2 separate regions of the Homo sapiens genome follow, and region 2 is linked to region 1. Evidence: promoter capture Hi-C in 16 types of primary human blood cells and fetal thymus (Javierre and others, 2016). All regions are on one chromosome and are shown on one strand. Each heading gives the region's core, a stretch centred on a gene start or on the middle of the fragment in contact. The rest is flanking DNA. Distances are from core to core; before and after follow the strand shown. Region 1 overlaps OR4D2 (olfactory receptor family 4 subfamily D member 2). Region 2 holds the start of VEZF1 (vascular endothelial zinc finger 1).

What was found. Contacts are between HindIII fragments. The CHiCAGO score rates a contact against its expected background, and 5 or more counts as called.
Region 2: a contact is called between the fragment with the promoter of VEZF1 here and a fragment that was not itself captured in region 1, in 4 of 17 cell types (total CD8 T cells, non-activated CD4 T cells, naive CD4 T cells and 1 more). The highest score is 7.1, in total CD8 T cells.

The regions. Positions count from the first base shown.
Region 1 is chr17:58,169,306-58,174,618 of GRCh38, reverse strand. It overlaps OR4D2 (olfactory receptor family 4 subfamily D member 2), which reads right to left. Exons shown (of 2, transcript NM_001004707.4): 2 at 3,503-4,981. The coding sequence starts at 4,963. The coding sequence ends at 4,040. Among named protein-coding and RNA genes, the nearest start is that of OR4D2, 5.0 kb to the right of the region's middle. The HindIII fragment of the contact is 727 bases long and covers 3,432-4,158 here.
Region 2 is chr17:57,985,662-57,991,423 of GRCh38, reverse strand. VEZF1 (vascular endothelial zinc finger 1) reads left to right here and starts at 3,170. Exons shown (of 6, transcript NM_007146.3): 1 at 3,170-3,345. The coding sequence starts at 3,313. It overlaps LOC101929185 (a long non-coding RNA gene), which reads right to left and starts at 3,314. Exons shown (of 1, transcript XR_001752716.3): 1 at 390-3,314. It also overlaps a transcript of SRSF1 not described here. RefSeq lists enhancers at 2,568-2,707, 2,728-2,777 and silencers at 2,928-3,207, 3,278-3,757, 3,838-3,907. The HindIII fragment of the contact is 4,468 bases long and covers 1,324-5,762 here.

The DNA.
Region 1 (5,313 bases), core at 2,546-5,045:
CTGGGGCAATCAAACACACACCAAAAGCTTGAGAGGAAAAGTTAGGAACAGAGATACTTTGGTGAATAAGAACTTTGGAAAGTTCCTGTATATACTATGAAATCTAGAATGCCACATTCTGCATATAAGGGCAGGATGAAAACACAGACTTGGGACAGTCCTAAGATATAAGTTCTGGCTAATCTTTAGGCCCAATGCAAGCAGAAAGTGAAGGCTAAGGCAGAGCTGTAAACATCCTTGTTAAGTGTTGAGGGAGTATCCAAACACAGAGCCAATCTGGAAAGACTGGGAGAGTATATTTTCTTTCTTTTTCATTTCTTTGTTGTATTAGTTCATTCTCATATTGCTATAAAGAAATATCTGAGACTAAGACTCGTAATTTATAAAGAAAAGAGGTTTAATTGGCTCATGATTGTGCAGGCTGTACAGGAAGCATAATGCTGGCATCTGTTTGGCTTCTGGGGAGGCCTCAGGAAACTTACAATAATGGTGGGAGGTGAAGTGGGAGCAGGCACTTCACATGGCTGGAGCAGGAGGAAGAGAGAGTAAGAGGGAGGCACCACACACTTTTAAATGACCAGATCTCATGAGAACTCACACACTATTGCAAGGTCAGTACCAAGGGAAGGATGGTGCTAAACTATTCGTGAGAAATTCATCCCCATGATCTAATCACCTCCCACCAGGCATCACCTCCAACACTGGGGATTATAATTCCACATGAGATTTCATGGGACACAGGTCCAAGCCATATCATTTGTCTACAGGCATTTAACAAAGTTACTGTAAAGCCATTAGATGACTATGAACTAAGGAAACAGATTTCAGAGGCCATATTTGACAAAAAAAAAAGTTTTAAAAGTCACTAAACAAACAACTGCAACTCACAGCAAGAAAAAACAACAAATAATAGGGAGCAGGAAGAAAATTATTTCCACTCCTACAACATTATAATATTTAAAATGTGCGGTTTTCACAAAATATTATGAGACATGCAAACAAACAAGAGAGTATGGCCCTTTCAAGGGAAGAAAAGAAATTAGCAGAAACTTCCTGAGAAAAAACAGACATTTGACTTAACTAGACAAAGACTTTAAAGCAACTTTCTTGAACATAGAGTAAACTATGGGTAAAGAATTAAAGGAAGAAGAATGTTTTACATAGAAAATATCAAAAAAGAGAGAGAAATTGATTTAAAATAAGAAATAGTCTGGAGCTGAAAAGTACAATAAAAGTAACTGAAATGAAAAGTTCACAGGACGGTTTCAATAGGAGCTTTCGAGTAGGTAGAAGAAAGAATCAGCTGGGCCTGGTGGCTTACACCTGTAATTCCAGCACCTTGGGAGGCCGAGGCGGGTTGATCACGAGGTCAGGAGTTCAAGACCAGCCTGGCCAACATGGTAAAACCCTGTCTCTACTAAATATACAAAAATTAGCTGGGTGTGGTGACACGCGCCTGTAGCCCCAGCTACTCAGGAGGCTGAGGCAGGAGAATTGCTTGAAACTGGAAGGCGGAGGTTGCAGTGAGCCAAGATCACACCATTGCACTCCAGTCTGGGCAACAGAGTGAGACTGTCTTAAAAAATAAAAATAAAATCAATGAATCTGAAGATAGGTTAGTTGAGTTCCAAGATTTCTGTTTGACATTTTGGAATCATTTCAGTCTCTTTGTTAAATTTCTAAATTGCTTTTCTGTGTTTTCTTGGAGATCAGTGAGTTTCCTTGAAACTCCTATTTTGAATTCTTGGTCAGAGAGCTCACTAATCACCATCTTGTTAGGATCAGTGACTGGATTTTTGCTTTTTCCTTTTGAGGAAGTCATAGTTCCCTGTTTGCTGTTGTTTCTTGTGGGTATGTATCCATCTTTCCAGTTTTCTCTGTACAGCTTGTTTTGGTTTTTATTGAATACATTTGCTTATTGAATCTTCACTGCTAGGTCACTGCCTCTATTCGACTCTAGGTGGTGCCTTAAGCCCAGGTTCACCTCAGGACTAGTAAATGGTTGAAGCACTTCCTGTCTCAAATCAAGGAGATCCCAAAGAGATTATCCTGGCAGTGTGGGAAGTCTGGCTAGGGGTTTGTGCCCAGGGGACCTGGGGAACATGCCTCCTACAGCATGGTGCTGCTGGACAGCAACTCTGAGTTGGTGTCTCCTTTGGCTGAGTTACAGAGCAGAATTTCTCTGCCTTTCTTCGGGGACATTTCTTCTTTCAGGCAGTCATGATGCTATCTGTGGATTAAGGCAAGAACAGTTCTCCTGCCAGGGACCCCAAGAAGGTAAGGAAGCTGGTGGGCCACCTCAATTTCAGTTTTTCCAGTGTAGAAACTGTAGTTGGGAGGAGATTTTTTGGCACTTGGTGCTGGACAGAATGGGGATGAGGGGTGTCCCAGATGTGGAAGTCTGATTCTCCTATCAGCTGCTTGGACTTTTTTCATCCCTCTGTGGCCCCAAGAACTGTCTCACTCTTATACTTGAGCTCTGGGTTGTTTCTGGTGTAGATCTCAGTGCTATATATTTGTTTTTGGTTCTGTGGAAGTCGGGGAGTGAATCCAATTTTCCTCTATGATGGCATTTCGGAATCAGAGGTCTAGAGATATTATAGGTCAATTGAAATCATCCAGTCTAAGGAGCAAAAAGAAGAATAAACGAAAATGAACATAGGCTCAGAAGCCTGTGAGACACCATCAAGGATACCAAGACACACACATAATGAGAATCCTGGAAGAAGAGGAGAGAAAGGCGCAGTAAAAATAGTTTAGGCAATAATGGTCACAACTCCAACATGGAGAAACCCCATCTCTACTGAAAATGCAAAACTTAGCTGGGTGTGGTGATGAGTGAACTCCGGCCTCGGCAGCAGAGTGAAACTTCGTCTCAAAAAAAGCACTCTCCAATAGCCAAAACCTGGAAACAACCCAAATAAACTTATTTTCACAGTGGAATATTCTACAGCAGAGCAAATGAATGAATTAGAGCCAAACATCAACATGTTATGTTAGAAACATAACATGGAGTGAAAAAAGCAAATCCCAGAATATTATGTACAGTACAATATCTTTATAAAACTCCAAAGTAGCAAAACAATATACTGTTTATGTAAAAAAAGTGATGAAACTATTTTATACAAGCAATGAAGTGATAAACATGAAATTCAACAGAGTGATTTCTTCTGGATAGGAATCAAGGTGAACACAATGGAGAGGACAATACAGGTGAAGGCAAGTTATTGGTAACTTCTGGTTCTTGAATCGAGTAGTGTATACATGAGCATTTATACATAATGACATAAGTTTCATAATGTGCATGCATTGCCCATGATCTTTTATTCAAAATTTGTATATTATATTAAAATGTAAATATAGAGAGAAAAAGCTTGAATACTCATAATAATTTCATATTTGAAAATAAAATACAATCATTTTTAAAAGCTTGGAAGATAACATATAGTTATATGATTTACTTGTTGTTTTATCACAAAATTTTTTTATTTGAATCTCATAACAAACATAGAATATTTTAGGGGCACATACTAATTTAAGCAAATTGGTGAGGGAGAAATCATGAGGCCAAGAAAAGCTGGGTGGCTTACTCGAAGTCATCAGTTTGGTCAATGATGGGTCAGGGCCTCTAATTTAGAGCTTAAGACTCCAAATTCTGTGCTGTTCCCAACAACCCAGACTCACACCAAAAGGAAATATTGGGAAGAGAGCTCAAAATACGGAAAATAGAAATGTTCGCACAGGGGAAATGCTGTCAACAGGAAACTGTCCACCAAGAAGGTGAAAAGGAAGGTGTGGTTTTCAGGGGCCATGTGAACAATTCTCATTGTTGCGAGTGTGTTAAAACTCTTTATCACAAACCTTAACCACCAAAGAGGATACTTTCTTTTTTCCTAAAACACGAAGTTGCTTAGTTTCAAAATTCATTCCCTGCTATGATGAACCTCAACACACTATGAAGAGAGCAAAGGTAGTAGCTCCCTCTCCACTTCACAAAGGGAAAACAAAGCCAAAGAGAAGAAACCTACCATTGTCACTCTCAAACCAGCCGGTGTCTCCCTAATCTTCTCACTGCTGCCTGCATGTCCTGGTTCCTCAGGGTATAGATCATGGGGTTGAGCATGGGGGTCATGACTGTGTGGCCGATGGACACAAGCTTGTCCATAGGGAATGGAGTGAAGGGCCGGGCATAGAGGTAAATGCTTGGAACGAAGATCATGGAAACCACGATGATGTGGGTGGTGCAGGTGGAAGCTGCCTTCCTTCTTGCCTCCCCTGGATGTGACCTCAGCATCACCAGGATGAATAAGTAGGACATCAGGAGGAGGAAGAACCAGACGACATCCAGCAGCCCACTGTTGGAGATCTTGAGGAACTCCAGCAGTGAGGTGTCAGTGCAGGCAAGTCTCAGTACTTGGGGAACATCACAGTAGAAGTTATCCAAAATGTTGGGGCCACAGAAGGGCAGTGGGAGCATCAGAGCCAGCTGGACAATAGAGTGGACAAAGCCTCCCACCCAGGTGGCTACCACCAGCCCCACCCAGAGCTGAGTGTTCATGACGGTGACATAGCGGAGGGGCCGGGAGATGGCAATGAGGCGGTCAAAGGCCATCACTGAGAGGAAGAAGACCATGGCACCTCCCAAAAAGTGGAAGAAGAAGATCTGACCCATGCAGCCCTGGTAAGAGATGGTTTTCTTCTCAGAGAGGAGGTCCACTAGCATTTTGGGAGCAGTGACTGAAGAGAAACAGAGGTCTAGGACAGCCAGGTTTCGGAGCAGAAAGTACATGGGTGTGTGGAGCTGGGAATCAGAGGTCACTGTGATGATGATAAGGATGTTTCCCATAACAGTGGTGATGTAGACAAACAGGAACATTAGAAACAGGAAACGCTGGAGCTCCCGAGTCTGCGAGAGCCCCAGGAAGACAAAGTCTGATACCCACGTGAGGTTCCCTGTTTCCATGGTGTTTTCTCCATACACCTGAAGAAAATGAACCACAGACACAGATACATGAAGTCACTACTTTCCCTTTCAGGGCTCAGGGGCTCAGAACCAAGGTTTTAGGCCCATATGATGAGCATCCTTATGTGTAGACCATTATACTAGGTGCTGTCTTGTCTCTGGATCGTTTACAAGTGGGTGCTGGAATATACATTCCTGAAATCTTAACGCCATCCAGAAGTATATACAACCTGCCTTTCAAAGATTCATATAGTGGTGGGAAGACACTTGGAGTCAGATACATCTGAAGTCAAATTTCAGGTCTTTCATTTCATTGTGATTTGACCATGAGTAACTTACTTAATCTTTCT
Region 2 (5,762 bases), core at 1,921-4,420, 180 kb after region 1:
AAGTTTTGGATTTGTTTTTAGTTTGTGGAGCAGTCTTAGCTGGGGACAGGTAATTGACAACGGCAGAGATACTTTCTTTTCCTAGGATTCTAAGTCTGTAATCCACATCCTCAATGTATTCACAGGACTTTAAAATTCTCTCCAAATGAGGAAGGAAATATCCTGTTGCTTTCTAATGTTTACTAAAAGTTGTGTTTAGAACAACAGATTTTAATAGGCATCTTCCTTTGTTATGTGTCATTAGCCCTTTGCCCGTTTACCTTAGGGCTCTTTGAAGGAGAAATGGATGGGAGAAAACCTGTCACTTGGCGAAAGTAAAAGGGATAATTAACTGGCTCAGAGCTTATGTGCAGAGTTCCAAGCCCCAAAGTTAATCTAGAACCACTCGATAACACCAATAAAAATATTTATTTCACATCTGTTATATATCTGGAAAATGTTCTAAGCATCTTACACATATTTCTCATTAAATCCACAGGTGACCATTGTGAGGTAGATATTTTGTTCTAATTTTCCAGATGAGGAAGCTGAGACCCTAAAAGGTTAGGTGACAGGTTATACAACTTGGAGTGTGGGAGGAGGAGAGAGGAACCTGAACAGGGCAAGTTGGGGATCTGACTTTTGTTTGGGTAGATGTAGGCACATTGTATTTTTGGCTTAGATGCTTTATTCATCATGGCTGAAGGTAATACCATTTACTCACTCACCGAAAATTGTTTACAATAATCTAGATGAATTTGCTGTCTTTGGACATCTGTCTTTTGACTGGACCCCAGTATATAGTCTGTGGAAGCTCACTTAAGGAGAGAGCTCCTTTTTGTTTGGTTAGAGAAATTTTCTGTCCTAAAAGTAGAAATAGCCCCTTCTAGGTAAGGATGGAGCATTTGATCATACTGGTTTCATTATATTCCTCTAACAGTTGGAACCGATTGTTTTTGAGTACTTGTTTCAAACTTCTGAGTATTTTCCTTCTGGAAAATAGCTCAGTGTTTAAAATTTACATGAACTTAAAAGGTTAATTTTTTTTTAAAGAATGTTTGAGGAGCAATCAATTCTGATTTTGTCTTATGGATAGAAATAGAATTAGCCATTTTCCTCAAGAAAAGTGATTCTTCTGAATCTTAGCTTTTCAGTAATGAGAACTGGACTGTTTCCACTTGACCTCTATTTCCTGTTAGTGGGAAACCGCTTCCCAGAGGTGCTGTGTGAAAGATTGCTGGGGAAAGGGTTTCTAGATCCCAGCATAACAAGTTCAAGAGTCCAGCGATATTGTCATTAGAATAATGGTCTTCATTAAGTACTAGTTTTCATAATCCTGAAGCTTCATTTTCACCAATTTGAAAGGCAGCTAGGGAGGAGAAGACTATGCAGGGAAGGAGGAAAACTCTGGAGTGCATCACAGAGACCTTGAGTGAGTTAAGGCAGGGAAGAAGCAGATTTGCTATCCACTGAATGAAAATAAGAAGAATTCCATTGTCCAAGGTCAGAGCAAGAACACAAAGGTTTTAGTTTACTTAGTTAATTCCTTAGGTTTGGACATTACAGGAGACATGGGGGTGACCATAGCAATTTAGCTGATAAATGTATCAGAAACTCTTTCATCATTTTCTGTCCCCTCCTATCTTAGGCTGACCGGTTCCCTGATGTGTTACCTGCTTCTGCTACTGATCCAAACTGCAGAACTTCTCATTCATCCCCAAGGCCTCCAGGCAGTATCCAATGGGGAATCAGCTCTAAAAGGAACCAGACCAACGTTTTCCAGCCCCTTCATTCTGGTGACTGAGGGGAGGAAAGAATGGGAGGGGGTATTCTTGTCTAGTGGATGGAAAGGAAACACACTGTCAAATTACTATATCTCCTTGGTTTTCTATTACAGTAGAATTCTCCAGCCATATTTTTATTGTCTATGGGGGAAGTTGGAGATGGTGACCTTGATTAGAAGTGTCTGGAGGGGGATAAATGGAGGGGATAAGATTCAGTTGGTTTTGGAAAATGTTAAAGTCTTAAAATAATGCGTCCATCTGAAGAATTTTTTCTAAAACCAGAGTTTATAAAAATATCACTGATACAGCCTGCCCCCTCATTTCCCTGCCACAGGAGATGTCTTGGACTAGAGACACTTGTTTAATAATAGCTTGTCTCTGATATTCCCAGTAGCTTCCCTCTGTGTGAGGAAAGGATAGAAATGTTCAGGACATCATCATACAGGCTCCTCATCTACAAAGTTCCAGTAGCAGTGACGCCTACACGGAAGACTTGGAACTGCAAACAGGCTGGGGTCACCTCAGTGACATCTGACGCTGTCCAACCAGAAGTTCGATTTTTGTTCTGGGGGTGAAGGAGGAAACAGACTGTACTAAAGGACTAAAATAATTTGTCTATACTATCTCACTTGTTTTTATTTTTGGCGGGAGAGGAGGGGTGTTGGGATAGAATTTCACATCCTATCTTGGAGTGAAGGGGAGGATGGGGAGGCTCAGCCCTTCACCCAAGAATAACCCAGTAATGACATCTCTACGCGTGGGAAGTGTTTCCCTCCACACTGAGAGGATCTGAGGCTGCACCCCAGTGGGATTCCCTGCTTGAGTTGGAAGGCCATCTCGCCATGAGATGCATATCATAGCGAGAGCGCAGAGGGCTTAGCCGGCCGGGGAGGAAATGCCAAAAGGAAGAGAGGCTCGAAGTCGAAAGGGCTTCCCCCAGTTTGGAGGTGGGGACCATGCTGTGCATGAGCGACTGAAGAGCCGAGTGTCCGCCGTGGCCTGTGCCCTCCGCTGAGGGTCTAACAGGGACGCGACGGTGCTGGACACCGTGTCTGAGTCACGGGAGACGGCCCAGCTGTGCCCAGCGGGCCAGCGCCAGACCCTGGCGTCCTCCATCTTCTCTCCTGAGCTCCCCCTGCTCCAGCTGCCTGAGCCACGGACCGCAGCACCACACACCCCCGCGGGGGGGGACGCCGCGCCCCATCCCCGCCCCGGGCCCCACCCCAGCCCCCCCGCGGGGGCCCTGACCCCACCGCCAGCGGGCACTGGCTGAGCTCCGAGGCGGCGAGCCGGCAGCGGGGACGCCCAGAGGGGGTCCGGGCGACTGGGGGCGGCGGCGGCCGGGCCGGGGCTCCCCCCCCGCCCGCGCTCGCCGCCGCGGTGGTGCGTCCCGGAGGTTACCGGAAGTGGCCGCGCTCGGCGCTGCCATGTTGAGGAGCCGCCGCTGCCGTTGCCGCCGCCGCCGCCGCCGCTTTGTTGTCGCCTCCTCCGGCTGAGGAGGCTCCCCGAGCGGGGGGAGTGGGGAGGAGGGGGGTCGGCCGCCGCAGCCATGGAGGCCAACTGGACCGCGTTCCTGTTCCAGGTACTGGGGGCCCCCCCGGGGGGGCACGGGGGGGACAGGGGGGCCGGGCCCCGGGCTGGCGGGCGGGCGGGCGCTCCTCCTCCCCTCCCTCCCGGCTCCGCTCTCCGGCCCGGCCTTAATCCCCCTTTGTTTTTCCGCCCGCCCGCCCCGGCGAAGCGGGGCTGCTGAGGTGAAAGGAGGCGGCCTCACGGGGTGCGGGGGAGATAGCAGGCCGCGGGGTGAACCCGGGGGCCCCCCAGCACACACACGCACACACACACACTCACACACACCCTTCCCTCTCGCTCTGAAGGGGAAGGGAGGAGGCCGGTCGCTGTCACCACCCCGCGGCCCAGAGAAAGGAGGGCGCCGGGCCGCTGGATAGCGCGGGCTGCTGGGCCATTGCGTGCCGGCCCGGTCCCCCACGGTGGGGTGAGGAGGTCCCCAGGTCCTGCCCTGAGTCTCCTCCCCGCCACTTCATCCATCTTTCGCTTGTTCTCTTTTCACCTTCCTCGTCTTTTTGTGTGTGTGCGTGCGTGTGTTGACTTTCTGACCCCCTCCCGTGTCCCCGCGAATAGCGGGTATCCCCAGGTTCCCCGCCACTCCCCCTCACCGCCACCACCCCTCTCGTGTTTACCCAGTTGGGGGGGCGGATGTTGTGAGTGTGTATCCCCTCCCCAAACTTTTTCACTGGATTTACATTTTTTTTTCCCAAGTCTCAGCCGAGCCTTGGCAGCTGACACCTTCTCCCTCTGTCCAGCTCTCCCGCCGTCCCATTCAGCCTGGGGAATCCCCCAGCCGGGCCGGCCCGGGGCAGGCGGGGAGCGGTGGGGGCCGGGACTCCTGGAGGCCCGACCTTCTCCCGAAGCGCTTTTCTTTCTCGCCCACCTCGAACGTTTCCTCCAACCAAGTGGAGAGAGCAAACAAAGTCCGCTTACAAAGCCCCCAGATGAGTCACTCTCTGGGATGTTGGTCTTCGCTTTTTTGCAAGAAACTTGAAAGTGACTGTAGCCGATGTGTTTTGGCAATTCTCTTGCCCGCCCACTTTAGATGGGGGACCCCTGTTTGGCAGATCTAGGCTGGAACTTATTTTTTTCCTACTTCGTTTCTGTTTGCAAAACGAAGCATTCAGTGGGCAGTAGCGATGAGCTCACGGGGAAACTTCGGAACTGGAGGAGGTTAGGAAGCTCGTCACTTTTAAGTGCGTTCTTCCCGCCTCTCTGAGTTATTTTCCTTTGAATACTTCGTGAAATCCCAAACGCGTAGCTGGGGCGCTTGATACCTTTTGAAACTAACAGGAACGGATGCAGAATTTTCAAAAAATTATTCTCCCAGCCACTGGATTCATCCTAGTGGAGTTAATATAGAGAATTGGATAACTCAGAAATTACCTACTGTGTAGACTGGCCTGTTGTTTTAAGACATATTTTTTCAAATGTGGGCAATTTGATCTTTAAGTAGTTATGGAAATATATTTGGGCTTCTTAAAATCTAAAATACCCAACATTATGGAATTCATGAACTTCCCCCTTTTCTCATTCTGATCAGTGTTGTTTTATTGTACTTTGATGAGCTTGCTAATAATGTGATAAACCAACTTGAAAATGCATTGGAAAAGAAATGATATATAACTAGCATGCATCCAGGTTGGTGTAAAGGTGGCAAATACTTTCCCCAGAAAAAAGCTCAAATGGTTATTTTAAAATATGGGATTGATGTGCCACTGAAGTGATTTTCGTGTGATTAAAAACCATATTAAGCATGGTGTCTATAGAGATTGAAAAAAAAAAGTGTTCTTCATGTAAAGGAAAAACCCATAACACATCTTTGGAAAGCTGGTTGAAAAATCTTTTGAAATACTTTTTTAAAGATTATTTTTCTCCTGGGTAAAACAAATGCCAAGCGTTTATTGATCAACTTTTTAATTAGATTTTATATTATTTAATTTTTTTCAGCTATTAAAATCTTTTTTTCCACCTGATGGAGAAGTGTGAAAACAAATATTTAATCCTGGGCTTGGCAATGTGTGCAGTGAAATTTGTTGGAAAACTTAAAATTTAGAGCCGAGAGCAGTTGAATGGGTAAAGAGAATATTTCAGTCTTTTCTATGGAAAGGTATGAATAGACTTAATCAGTTCTGGTTTTAAGTAATTTTCACTGGGGATATGGAGTTAAATTATCTTGTTTGTTTCCTGGAGCATCCTGTTGAATTTATATTTTGAAACAATTTAATACCTGCTTGCTTTCCAGATAACTTGGTGGAAAGTGAAAGCTATAGCTATTAAAATGTTTGATGGATGATTCTTCTAACAGGACATTCAAGATGTGACTCACCGATGTTAATTTGTTCAGTACAAAATCTTTTACCCTCTGGCACTGGAGATTTCATGGTGCCATATCCTACTACCCTGGGTGATGAAATAACATTTCTGTTTTGT